3 separate regions of the Homo sapiens genome follow, and all the other regions are linked to region 3. The links are contacts of gene promoters, found by promoter capture Hi-C in blood cells and fetal thymus (Javierre and others, 2016). All regions are on one chromosome and are shown on one strand. The core of a region is centred on a gene start or on the middle of the fragment in contact, and the rest is flanking DNA. Distances in the headings are between cores, read along the strand shown.

The links. The method cuts DNA at HindIII sites, captures the fragments that hold promoters and counts their contacts. A CHiCAGO score of 5 or more calls a contact.
Region 1: a contact is called between the fragment with the promoter of TBC1D2B here and a fragment that was not itself captured in region 3, in 1 of 17 cell types (activated CD4 T cells). The highest score is 5.3, in activated CD4 T cells.
Region 2: a contact is called between the fragment with the promoter of SKIC8 here and a fragment that was not itself captured in region 3, in 5 of 17 cell types (fetal thymus, non-activated CD4 T cells, naive CD8 T cells and 2 more). The highest score is 12.3, in fetal thymus.

What each region holds. Positions count from the first base shown.
Region 1 is chr15:78,075,868-78,080,157 of GRCh38, reverse strand. It overlaps TBC1D2B (TBC1 domain family member 2B), which reads left to right and starts at 2,447. Exons shown (of 13, transcript NM_144572.2): 1 at 2,447-2,865. The coding sequence starts at 2,506. RefSeq lists silencers at 2,162-2,211, 2,362-2,571, 2,772-2,971. The HindIII fragment of the contact is 13,244 bases long and covers 1-4,290 here.
Region 2 is chr15:78,298,333-78,302,405 of GRCh38, reverse strand. It overlaps SKIC8 (SKI8 subunit of superkiller complex), which reads left to right and starts at 2,797. Exons shown (of 11, transcript NM_025234.3): 1 at 2,797-2,844. RefSeq lists enhancers at 2,400-2,489, 1,665-2,631, 2,730-3,079, 2,632-3,599. The HindIII fragment of the contact is 6,178 bases long and covers 1-3,534 here.
Region 3 is chr15:78,870,134-78,873,909 of GRCh38, reverse strand. MORF4L1 (mortality factor 4 like 1) reads right to left here and starts at 1,020. Exons shown (of 12, transcript NM_006791.4): 1 at 853-1,020. The coding sequence starts at 892. RefSeq lists enhancers at 169-408, 1-433 and silencers at 519-578, 989-1,248. The HindIII fragment of the contact is 1,335 bases long and covers 1,515-2,849 here.

The DNA.
Region 1 (4,290 bases), core at 1,198-3,697, 790 kb after region 3:
TAGATCTAGGAGAGATGGGCTACACCCTCCCCTGTCCTGTTGCCTCCCTGTACCATGGCAATACAGACCGGGTTCTCCCAGCTCTTCCCTTTCCCACAGTATTTCAAGGTCAGACCTCACCCTGACTGCCTACCCCACAAGCCAATTAGTCACAGCCCCTTTTACATACATGGTGAGGCCCAAATTGAACTTGGGACCCCTTGCTCCCGAGAGCAGCCCACTCCACTCCCGCAGCACCGCAGTGTCTGGCCTCCCTTGTCTGGGCCCGGTCTGACTGTTGGATTCCCCCTCTCCGAATCTGCTGACTGATGAGGAAGACATCGGTGTTAACTGCAAGATGATAATAATAACAGCTGATATGTGCTGAGTGCTTACTATGTGTGAGGCACCGTGCTAAGCACTTTCATATGCATTTCTCACGTAACCCTTTCAATAACAACAGCACGAGATAGCTACTTGTATTTATCAACCCTGTTTTATAAATGAAGAGACTGAGGCCCAGAGAGGTTAAATCACTTGCCCAAGGTCATGCCTCTGGTAAGTGGCAGAGCTAGGAGACACATCTGGTCAGTGTGAAGTCAGAGCCCAGTCCTTAACACTGTGCTGATTGTGCTCAAAGACAGGTGGAGAGGTCAGCCACACCTCTGATGGGCCCCAGGAAAGGAATGCTTGCGTGGTGCCACTTTAGGGCCTGCAGAGAGTCGGCAGGCTGGGTGAGGACCCAGAACCTGCCCTTCCTACCTGGGTGGCTCCAAACAGGCAGTCTAATTTGTGTCCCTGTCCAGCTCAGAAAGGTCAGTTTTCCACCTGGGTCTTTCAGTGTGTCTGTATAAAACATGCAAATCTATGAGGGTGAGATATTTGGTTTGGGCTTTCACAAATGTAGCTATGTAGCTATACACTTCCTTTTTCCTTTGAATAAAGTGAGCTCTTGTACTCACTATTCCCTCTCCCTGGAATGCTTCACCCACATTTCTGGTTGCCCCTGTCCCTCCCATCATCTGGGTTTGTGCTCCATGTCACAGGATCAGACCAGCCTCCTTGCCTGTCCTGGGGCAGCAGCCTGCTATCTGCCCCCCATCACTTCATCCTCTCACTTTGCTTTTTACTTATTTTTTATTCTTGTGGGAACATAGTAGGTGTATATATTTATGGGTTACATGAGATATTTTAATACAGGCATGCAATGCATAATAATCAAATCAGGGTAAGTAAGGTATCCATCACCTCAAGCATTTATCCTTTGTGTTACAAACAATCCTATTATACTTTTTTTTTTCTTTTTAGACAGAGTTTTGCTCTTGTTGCCCAGGCTGGAGTGCAATGGCGCAACCTCGGCTCACTGCAACCTCCACCTCCGGGGTTCAAGAGATTCTCTTGCTTCAGCCTCCCGAGTAGCTGGGATTACAGGCATGCACCACCACGCCCAGCTAATTTTGTATTTTTAGTAGAGACAGGGTTTCTTCATGTTGGTCAGGCTGGTCTCGAACTCCCGACCTCAGGTGATCCACCCACCTCGGCCTCCCAAACTGCTGGGATTACAGGCGTGAACCACCGCGTCTGTATTATACTCTTTTGGTTATTTTTAAACGTACAATTATATTATTTTTGACTGTAGTCACCCTGTTGTGCTAGCAAATACTTGGTCTTATTCATTCTTTCTCTTTGCTTTATTACAAAGCAATAGATTTGCCTTCTCAGGTTGTGAGTGTTCAAATAAGTTAGTCTATAAAGCACTGATAAATACTAGGTGCTATTTTAAGCGGTAATCATTTACATGTCATCACGGCATTTATACAACATAGCACACATTACTTTTATCTGCTTTCTTGTGTGTCACCTCCCTGCCTTACTAGAATATAACCTCCACGAGGGCAGGAGAATGATTGGTTTGTTCACTGCTGTATCCGCCAGGGCCTGGCATACAGAACCGTACCCGGCATTCAGAAGGCGCTCAATAAATATATGTTGAATTCAATAAATGAACTGAGGTCTGGAGAGGCAGGAAACGCTTTGGCTTTCATGAATTCTGCAAATATTTACTGAGCACCCACTCAGCACCAGGCAATAGGCTGTCTCATTTTTACAATATTAGCTTGAGACTCTGGCAGGAGGGAGATTTAAATATCAAGTTTTTAGAATAAGATACACAGTGTGAAATGCAGTTTTAAGCGGACACTCCGCTGGGTTTTGAGAGATGCACACTCCCATGTACCTACACTGCCATAAAGAAATAGACCATTGCTTCATCCGGCAGGGCGAGGACTTGGAGCCCAGGTGGCACGAAGGCAACTGACCCGCGGGGTGCTGGTCGCAGGACCCTGCCTCCGGGGGCTGAGGGGGCAACGGCCGGCGGGCGGGCGGGGGCGAGACTACAAGTCCCAGGGTGCTTTGCGCGCCCGCGGGCCGTGCGGAGCGAAGGGGCGGTGCGGAGGGGGTAGGGGGCGCAGCGGCCGCGGCGCGGAGGCGCAGGGCGCGGGCGCCTACGGTTGGCGCGCGGTAGCGATGCCGGGGGCCGGAGCCCGGGCGGAGGAGGGCGGCGGCGGCGGCGAGGGCGCGGCGCAGGGGGCGGCCGCGGAGCCCGGGGCGGGTCCGGCGCGGGAGCCAGCGCGGCTGTGTGGCTATCTGCAGAAGCTGTCGGGCAAGGGCCCCCTGCGTGGCTACCGCAGCCGCTGGTTCGTGTTCGACGCGCGCCGCTGCTACCTTTACTATTTCAAGAGTCCGCAGGACGCGCTGCCCCTCGGCCACTTGGACATCGCGGACGCCTGCTTCAGCTACCAGGGCCCCGACGAGGCGGCGGAGCCGGGCACGGAGCCGCCCGCGCACTTCCAGGTGCACAGCGCGGGAGCCGTCACGGTGCTCAAGGTGGGACCGCTCGCCCCAAAGCCGCCCGCGCGCTTCCGCCGGCGTCCCCTGCCTCCGCCACTGGCTTGCGCCATCCACCCTCCTTCCTCCAAGGCCTCCTCGCCCCTGCCCACGTCGGCCTGCCTTTCCCTGCTTCTCCACATCCCGCCCTCGTTCCTATCTCCTCCCCACTATCTGGGCTTAGGCCAGTCTCGCTGGGGCTACCAAGCCCCGTCTCCTTTCTCAGACACCTTGACCCATTATCTCCCTCTGCGCCTAACCTCGGGCCAGTCTCTGGTGTCTCCCGACCCCCACCATCCCGTGGATGTCCTGTGCAGCCTTCCCAGGCATCCGTGAGCGTAGGCTTCTACCCCTGGGGCCTCCTTTAGAACTTTGCCTATGGCCTTGGTACCTCAGTGAACCGCTCTGGGCTGCAGCGGCCTCCTCTGTAAAATGGGATAACAGTAGTATCTACCTCATGGGGTGTTGGGATTAAATGAATTATACTTTAAACTGCTCAGTAAATGTCAGTGCTTTTATTTATTTGTTTATTTATTCTTTTTGAGACAGGATCTTGTTCTGTTGTCCAGGCTGGAGTGCAGGGGTGCGATCTCGGCTCACTGCAGCCTCCATGCCTGGGCTCAAGAGATCCTCCCACCTCAGCCTCCCAAGTAGCTGGGACCACAGGTGCGGGCCACCACGCCTGGCTAATTAAATTTTTTTTTTTTTTTAAAGAAACGGGGGTCTCACTATGTTGCCCAGGCTAGTCTCGAACTCCTGGGCCGAAACCATCCTCCCCATCCAGCTTCCCAAAGTGCTGGGATGCCAGGCGTGAGCCAGAGTGCATTTAGCACTGTAGACAGAAAGAGTCAGATGGCAGGGCCCTTAGAGACAGTCCACTACATTTTCCTCCAGAGTGGACGGGGATGCTCCAGCTAAGGTCACACAGCCAGTAGGTGGCAGATCCTGTGTTCTTCCTCCTTGCTTTGTCCAGGATGGGTGGGAGGGGGTCTTTTCAGCCAGTTATGCCTTGCTCCTTTGAGGCTCCCTTAATCCTCCAGTGGACAGACAAAATGAGAGATACAGTGTAGAAGCAGGAGAGTAGAGTCAGGAGTCCTGGTGCTGAAAGGCCTCCCCTGTCCTTGGGAGTTCTGGGGGACTAGACTGTCACCTCCTAGGGGCCCACCTGCTTTGAGCATCTGGAGGGATCTGGGCCCAGGCCTGGAGCTGGGTATCCTTTTTCCAGGCTTTGCTCCCTGCCTGGTTTCTGTGAGTCTCCACCCTCACTCTCACTCCTCTTCCGTATTCCAGGTTGGGCTTTCTCCAGAGCAACAGGGTTGGGCTGGGATGTATGAAAGTGCTCTCAAAGCTGGCCACACGGAGAGCAGACTAGGCAAACTCCTGGCCTTGTGAGCTGAGGACTGTTCCTCAGACCCCCAGAGCTGC
Region 2 (4,073 bases), core at 1,548-4,047, 570 kb after region 3:
AAGTTAAAAGGCATAAATGTGATCAGTGTGCTTTTAGAATAATTTGAAGGTGGGGTATTTAAAGTTAATGTGTAGAAAAGAAAAAAAACCTTACATAACCCCAGATCACACAAATTAAAATTCACTTAGTCATACAGTTGTGAGCACTTTTGACAGCCAAAATTTCACCCTTCTTAAAGTAGGAGTCTTTCAAAAATACTTCTTCATATTCAAAAGCTAAAAGTTAGAGTGAAGATGGCCCAATTATCTCGGTGTGGGAGAGGTTACATAATAATCTATTTCCAAAACCCACAAAAACCCGTAAATGTCACCAACAAAAACAAAGCAGCAGATTGGCCAAAACTAAGGCAACTGGTTATACAGGAAGGCAGCAGGTCACTCATTTAACTGCTAAAAGCCATTGCTTTGTAGTACTAATGTTAATTCCTTTCCACACTTCAGGAACCCACATCCCAGCCATTGCAGGGTCAGTTTCTGTGTATTTAGCTCTGTGGAATGTGCCCGAACACCAGTCAGCACTTAAGTCAATCTAAGTTTGAAAATCAGCTCACTGGCTTCATGATATAATTTGTACATTCTTCCTTAGCTTCAGGGGCACATGCCTGACCCTGGTCCAATAGATCCAGAATGGTTACAAGGATATCTTGACTTATAAGAGATGCCACATAAGAATTTTGACAATTCAGTCTTGAAGTCTGCTCACTTTGACCCAAACTTTTTAAGCCAGTGACATGCAGAGGGTCCACTGGGGCTGGATGAAATTTCTATGGACAGAGATGTCACAGAGCTGGGAAGGAGAGAAATAGCTCTCCAGTCAATGTGACTGAGAAAAATTAGTCATATCACTCTGAAACATGTGAACTTGAGGGTTAAGGATGCTGGCATGCAGGGAAGTCATGTGTGCAGCAGAAGAGCTGCAGGATGTCTTCTCTTTTGTGTTAATGTGAGATTACTGAGGACAAGAGAATAGGTCCTGGGAGATGTGGGTGTATTTGCCAATTTCTCACCACACATAGCCTCCTCAAAAAGCCCCCAAAGATGGCCAGGTGCAGTGGCTCATGCCTGTAATCCCAGCAACTTGGGAGGCAGAGGTGGGTGGAGCACCTGAGGTCAGGAGTTTGAGACCAGCCTGGCCAACATGGTGAAACCCCGTCTCTACTAAAAAAAAAAATACAAAAAAAAATTAGCCGGGTGTGGTGGTGGGTGCCTGTAGTCCCAGCTACTGGGGAGGCTGAGGCAGGAGAATCACTTGAACCCAGGAGGCAGAAGTTGTAGTGAGCCGAGATTGCGCCACTGCACTCCAGCCTGGGTGACACAGCAAGACTCAGTCTCAAAAGAAAAAAAAGCCCCCAAAGATGAACTTCACCTAGTTGTAAGTGGTCTAATAGTCCTCCGTCTCTCTCTCTATATATATATTTGAACTTCAAAACTAGTTTTTTCGAAAAATATTTTTTAGAGCCAGGGTCTCACTCTGTCACCCAGGCTACAGTGCAGTGGCCCAATCATAGCTCACTGCAGCCTCAAACTCCTGGGCTCAAGTGATCCTCACTTCTGCCTCCTGAGCAGCTGGGTCTACACGTGCACACCACTGCGTCTGTAACTTTAAAATTTTTTGTAGAGATTGGGTCTCGCCATGTTGCCCATACTGGTCTTGAAATCACGGCCAGAAGCAATCCTCCCCCCTTGGCCTCCCAAAGTGCTGGGATTACAGGAGTGAGCCACCACATCTGAGCCACAGGGCGGCCTCCATAATGGGGCATGAGCCTCTTCCCATCTTTTTTTGTTGTTGTTATTCGAGACAGTCTCACTCTGTTGCCCAGGCTGGAGTGCAGTGGTGTGATCTGTGCTCACTGCAACTTCTGCCTCCAGGGTTCAAGCGATTCTCCTGCCTCAGCCTCCCAAGTAGCTGGGATTACGGGCACATGCCACCACACCCGGCTAATTTTGTTTTTGTTTCTGTTTTTTTTTTTTTTACTTGAGACGGGGTTTCACCATATTGGCCAGGTTGATTTCAAAACTCCTAACCTCAAGTGATCCACCCACTCCGACTCCCAAAATGCTGGGATTACAGGCATGAGCCACCACACCCAGCCCCATCTCTTTTTTTTTTTTTGAGACGGGGTCTAGTTCTGTTCCCCAGGCTGGAGTGCAGTGGCGTCATCACGGCTCAATGTAGCCTCAACCTCCAGGGCTTAAGCGATCCTCCTGCCTCAGCCTCCCAAGTAACTGGAACTACAGGCATGTGCTAATTGTTTTTATTTTTAGTAGACACGAGGTCTCTCGCTATGTTGCCCAGGCTGGTCTGGAAACCCAGAGCTCAAGCAAGCCTCTCACCTCGGCTCCCAAAGTCCTGGGATTACAGACGTGAGCTACTCTGCCTGGCCCTCAAAAAAAAAAAAAAAAAAAGTCAGTTGACAACCTATTAAACTGATATCTGTCACGTTAATGGGTCATGACTAGCAGTTTGAAAGACAAAGCTCGATTTCACTGAATTTATTTCAGCAACAGAAGTTATTAGCTTTAGTCCAATCTCAAAAGTACAAAATGAAATTGCAACACAAACCTCTAAACCTGCAGTTGCCGGAAGCTAAACGTCTGCGCTTCCGGAAGCAAATTTCCAACTACCACTCCTCTGGAAGCAGGACCTGGCTTCCTCCCTCCTCTCTCCGCCCACCCTCGTCGGCGTCTGCCCCGCGCCCGCCATAGCGACGGCAACGGGCGCTGCGGAGTGCTCCGAGCCGTGAGGGCGGGGCCGGCGCGATGCCCCGCCCCTTCGATAGCTCATCTTTGCGCGTCGCAGTCGCGCGGAGCCCGGCTTCCGACGTGCAGCCTGGCAGTGCAGTGGTGAGTTGGAGCGCAGGGCCGTTGGGGATTGGGGTCATTAGGGCCGTTGACAGTCCAGGCCAGAGGGCGAGTGAGCGAGGTTGGGCCCGAGGCTGCCTGTAAGCAGGTCCGTTCAGGGATGCTCCAGGCCCTGGGGCCTGAGGGTGGCTTCCATGGCTCCATTTGCCCTGGCTGTTCCTCGGTGTACGGGGCCTGAGGGGAGTGGGGGAGGCCCGTGGGTGGCCTCCTTTTGCGTCCTGAGAATGTTCTGGGCAGTATCGAGATTAGGGCTGGTTTCTCTGCGGAGGAGATCATTTATCCGTAGCTGGGAGGGCTGTATTAACCGAAGTTTTCCAGTAGTGGGCCACGCTGTCTTAGGTAGCGTGCTGGACAGATACAGACATCACTGGACGGGTACAGACAGAGGCTGGGTTCGCTTTACGCCAAGTACCGTGCAATACTGTGGGCTGTTGACTTGCCTGAGTAGTTTCATAGAGGCATCTGTAGTGTTCCTTGGAAACACTGAGTCAGTGATGAATTCTGCCTAGGAAATTTAGGGAAAAGTTTCCCAAAGAGAGAAGATGGCAAGAGAGGGCTAAGGTCTAAAGTCTCTTAGCTCTGACCTTCATAAGACCCTGAAGTAAGAGGTAGTGTATCTTGGTAGCCTATACTATAGCTTGTATCCACCTTTTAGTGTCCCTTGGGGAAGCTTCCTTAACCGCTTCTAAGCCTCCCTTTTCTTACTAGAAAAGTGGAACTGATAATAAAAAAATAGTAGTTCCCCCCTTATCTGCGGGGTGTACGTTCCAGTGGATGTCTGAAATCTTGGATAGTGAAGGACCCTGACTGACTTACCGTGGTTTGACTTACAATTTTTCAACTTTACATAGGTTTATTGGGAAGTAACCCCATTGTAAGTTGAGGAGCATCTATACTGTGTTTTTTCTCATACAGATTACACATACATACCTGTGATTACTTAGTTTAATTCGTAAATTAGGCACAATAAGAGAATAACAACAATAATAATAAAATAGAATTATAACAGTGTAATAAAATGTATGTGAATGTGGTCTCTCTCAAAATATCTTACTGCACTCTACTCACCTATTTTTGGACTACGGTTGACCTCTGGAACTGTGGAAATCAAAACCTCAGCTAAAGAACTACTGTACCTAGTAAGCGGGGTTATGAGGTTTCAGTGAGCTAAATCTTTGTGTATTACTTAAAATAGGACCGGATTCATTGTA
Region 3 (3,776 bases), core at 933-3,432:
GCGTCAACACTGCATTCAGATCATTTTTATTTACTTTTTACGAGCAACTGCAAAGCGAGAGCTCACTCACATTACCATAGGATCTCGGCACTGCGCCCAAGAATAGCAGAGTGATGCCTCCAGGCAACACAAAGCGGAGGAAAACGCTCATCTCACTTTTTTTTTTCTGTCCCCACCCACCACTCTGTGGTATGCGGAGGGCCCCGGCAACCTTCTGGTCGTCGTGGAAGGGGGCGCTGCATCTGCCCGTAAGCTGTGCCTCCATACGGGACCGAGACGCCGGCGGCCATGATGGCGCCGCCATCTTGCAACGGCCATTTTACAACGCACTTCTCCCGCCCCGTGGCGCCAAACCCACCCCCATCCGCAGCTGAGTTGCCACCGAACGCAACCACCCCGGGGCTCCAGGAAGCACCGAAAAACCCGTCGTAGCTGCCCAAGCGGCCGGGCGCGCCGCAGGACCGCCCGAAACAGCCACCGCCCCTCCCCCCCCGCCGCCACATCACTTCCCCTAACCGCCGCCATGGCGCTCCCGTCGCCTCCCTACAATAGGCTGCTCTCTCCGCGCCCTCTTCCTCAGAACAATAACAAACACTTGACGAGGGTGTGCCACGCGCCAAACGCTCTCTCTCCCACTCTAACGCCTGCGCAGCACTCTCGCTTCACAAAGCGCTTTCTCACAATGACGCACCGGAATTGCCATCCGCAATGCGCTTTCCCCGCACAAAGCACTGACCGCCGCCTTCTCAGGGCGCAGCCCGCGCCGCCCCCGGCCCTCAAGCCTCAATCACCTCGAGCCCGCCTCTATCTCCTGCGCCGTTAGGTGCCTTTTTCCCAAAGGCGCACACTCACCCTCCTGGAATTTAGGCTTCGGGTCCTGCTTCGGCGCCATTTATAAGTGATTCGCCGCCTCCTCCTTCTCCCACCACCCCCGACTACCGCCCCCTACTCTCTACCCCACCCAACTCCGCGTCAGACGCGCCGTCAGGCACTGCCAGCTCTACATCCTGGGCCGGATTTGCCAGCGCCCGCAGACCTCACAGCACCGCGACCCGCGCAGCCGCTGCTCCAGCCAACGACAGCCCGCCGCGCACGCGCCCCTGCGCCCGCGCCGCCCCAGGGCACGCCGGGACTGGTAGTTCGGAGTCGGTGGAGGCGCCCCCCCCCCCCCCCCGGGTGGGGGAGGGGCCGGCTACCCTACCCCACCCCACCCCCGCTTCTCTCTCCATGCCCCCGGCTGCTGCGGGTTGGTAAAGCGGGGATTTGATTTCGTGGGAGGTTAAGGCGGAGCTGGCGATGGGGGAGAGTGGGGGTGGTGAGCCACCAGTGATAATAGAATGGGAAAGGCCCAGTTGCGACGTCCCTTGGGCAAATAAGCCCCCGTTGATGTTGAAGTAGTCGGAGAGAATAGGGCTGGCTCGGAAACCTACATTCAATAGCATTCCGCTAGTTTTTGCATAGAAAGGCTTTAGGATCAGCAAGAGGGTGGGAACTGGGGTCCGCTTCTGGAAGCTTCGTTGTTTAGCAACCCCACTGCGGAGCCTATTTGGTGGGATTGATAGCCATTTGTTGGCTCCTAGGTCTACCTCCTCTTCTCCAGCCCAGCCTTGCGGAAATGAGGATGATGACGTGGGAAACACTAGTCACGCTTTAGCTTTTTGAGATAATGGAGCTCTGCTTTCTGAAAAAGGCTAGTGTGAATATGTCAACGTCTGTATTCCGTACCTGCCCTGTTTGTGCTTCTTGTCACTCTAAACAAACGGATTTCTTCAATATTATACCTTTTTTTTTTTTTCTGAGATGGAGTGTCGCTCCGTTGCCCAGACTGGAGTGCAGTGGCGCGATCTCTGCTTACTGCAGCCTTCGCCTCCCAGGTTCAATCGATTCTCCTGCCTCAGCCTCCGGAGTAGCTGGGATTACAGGCATGTGCCACCACGCCCAGCTAATTTTTGTATTTTTAGTAGATACTGGGTTTCACCATGTTGGCCAGGCTGGTCTGGAACTCCTGACCTCGTGATCCGCCCGGTTTGGCCTTCCAAAGTTCTGGGATTACAGGCGTGAGCCACCGTGCCTGGCCTAAACAAACGGATTTATGTCGTTCCCTGTTCAAAAACAACTTTGTTGGCTAAGCTGCAAAATAGCACCATTTCCGTCAGTTTATTGTGAGAATTACATATACGGGCTTAGCGCGGTACCCAACAATGAATAAGTGCTCAATGAACTTTAGACGATAAATCTCAAAGTCCTTAGCCTGGTATTTAAATCCTTCCACAAACAGCCCTTAGCCTACCTGCATCCCCTATGTAAACCTTTATCCTCCTACGCAAACCTTTGTCTCCATGACTTTTCTTTTTTTTTTTTTTCTTTCTGAGACGGAGTTTCCCTCTTATTAACCAGGCTGTAGTGCAAAGGCGCGATCTCAGCTCACTGCAACCTCTGCCTCCCAGGTTCAAGCGATTCTCCTGCCTCAGCCTCCCGAGTAGCTGGGATTACAGGCATGTGACACCACACCGGGCTAATTTTTGTGTTTTTGTAGAGATGGGGTTTCTTCATGTTAGTCAGGCTGGTCTTGAACTCCCGACCTTAGGTGACCCGCTGGCCTCGGCCTCCCAGAGTGCTGGGATTACAGGCGTGAGCCACTGCGCCCAGCCTGTCTCCATGGCTTTTCTAAGCCCTCCCCTGCCCGGGTTCCACACCCCACCAATTCCGGGCCCCTCTCCATTTATCTGACTTCCATTTCTCCTTCAGTCTTTTTAACACAACCCCTTCTCTGACAACAGAAACCCACAAAAACCTTCCTTATTCCAGTTGAATATACACCATCTTGTCACGACTACTTCTCGCAAGCTTGTCCAACCTGTCTTATTTTGTTGTTGTTTTGTTTTGTTTTGTTTAGGCTTTTAGCACCCTGAAGCCATGGTTTTTAGTTTCAGTCTCTAGTGATAAGTGGAAAAGGGGGATGAGGAAGGGGCTTTACTGGCCCAACCAGAAACAGAAACTAAGAACCCATGACTGTATTCACTCCCTTGGACACCATTGCTAAATTGTAAAAAGGGACAAGGGCTTCTTTGGACCCCACCCCACCAAAACTGTCCTGTACACTTTTAAATTTTTTATTGAATATAAAATACGTACTTTTTTTAAATTATTTTTTTGAGACAGTCTCGCTCCGTAGCCAGGCTGGAGTGCAGTGGCACAGTCTCAGCTCACTGCAACCTCTGCCTCTTGGGTTCAAGCGATTCCCCTGCCTCAGCCTCCTGAGTTGCTGGGACTCGGTGTGCCATCACGCCCAGCTACTTTTTTGTATCTTAGTGGAGATGGGGTTTCACCATGTTGGCCAGGATGGTCTCGATCTCCTGACCTTATGATCCTCCTGCCTTGGCCTACCAAAGTGCTGGGATTACAGGCATGAGCCACTGCGCCCAGCCAATTTTTTGTTGTTGTTGTTGTTATGAGACCAAGTCTCACTCTGTCACCCAGGCTAGAGTGCAGTGGTGCAGTCTCAGCTCACTGCAGCCTCCACCTCCTAGATTGAAGCGATTCTTCTGCCTCAGCCTCCCAAGTAGCTGGGTTTACAGGCGCATACCACTATGGCCGGCTAATTTTTGTATATTTAGTAGGGATGGGGTTTCACCATGTTGGCCAGGCTGTTCTCGAACTCCTGACCTCAGGTGATCCACCCGCCTCGGCCTCTCAAAGTGCTGGGATTACAGACGTGAGCCACTGCGCCCAGCCTGCACATACTTTTTTAATCCAAACGTTTAAAAATACAAAAA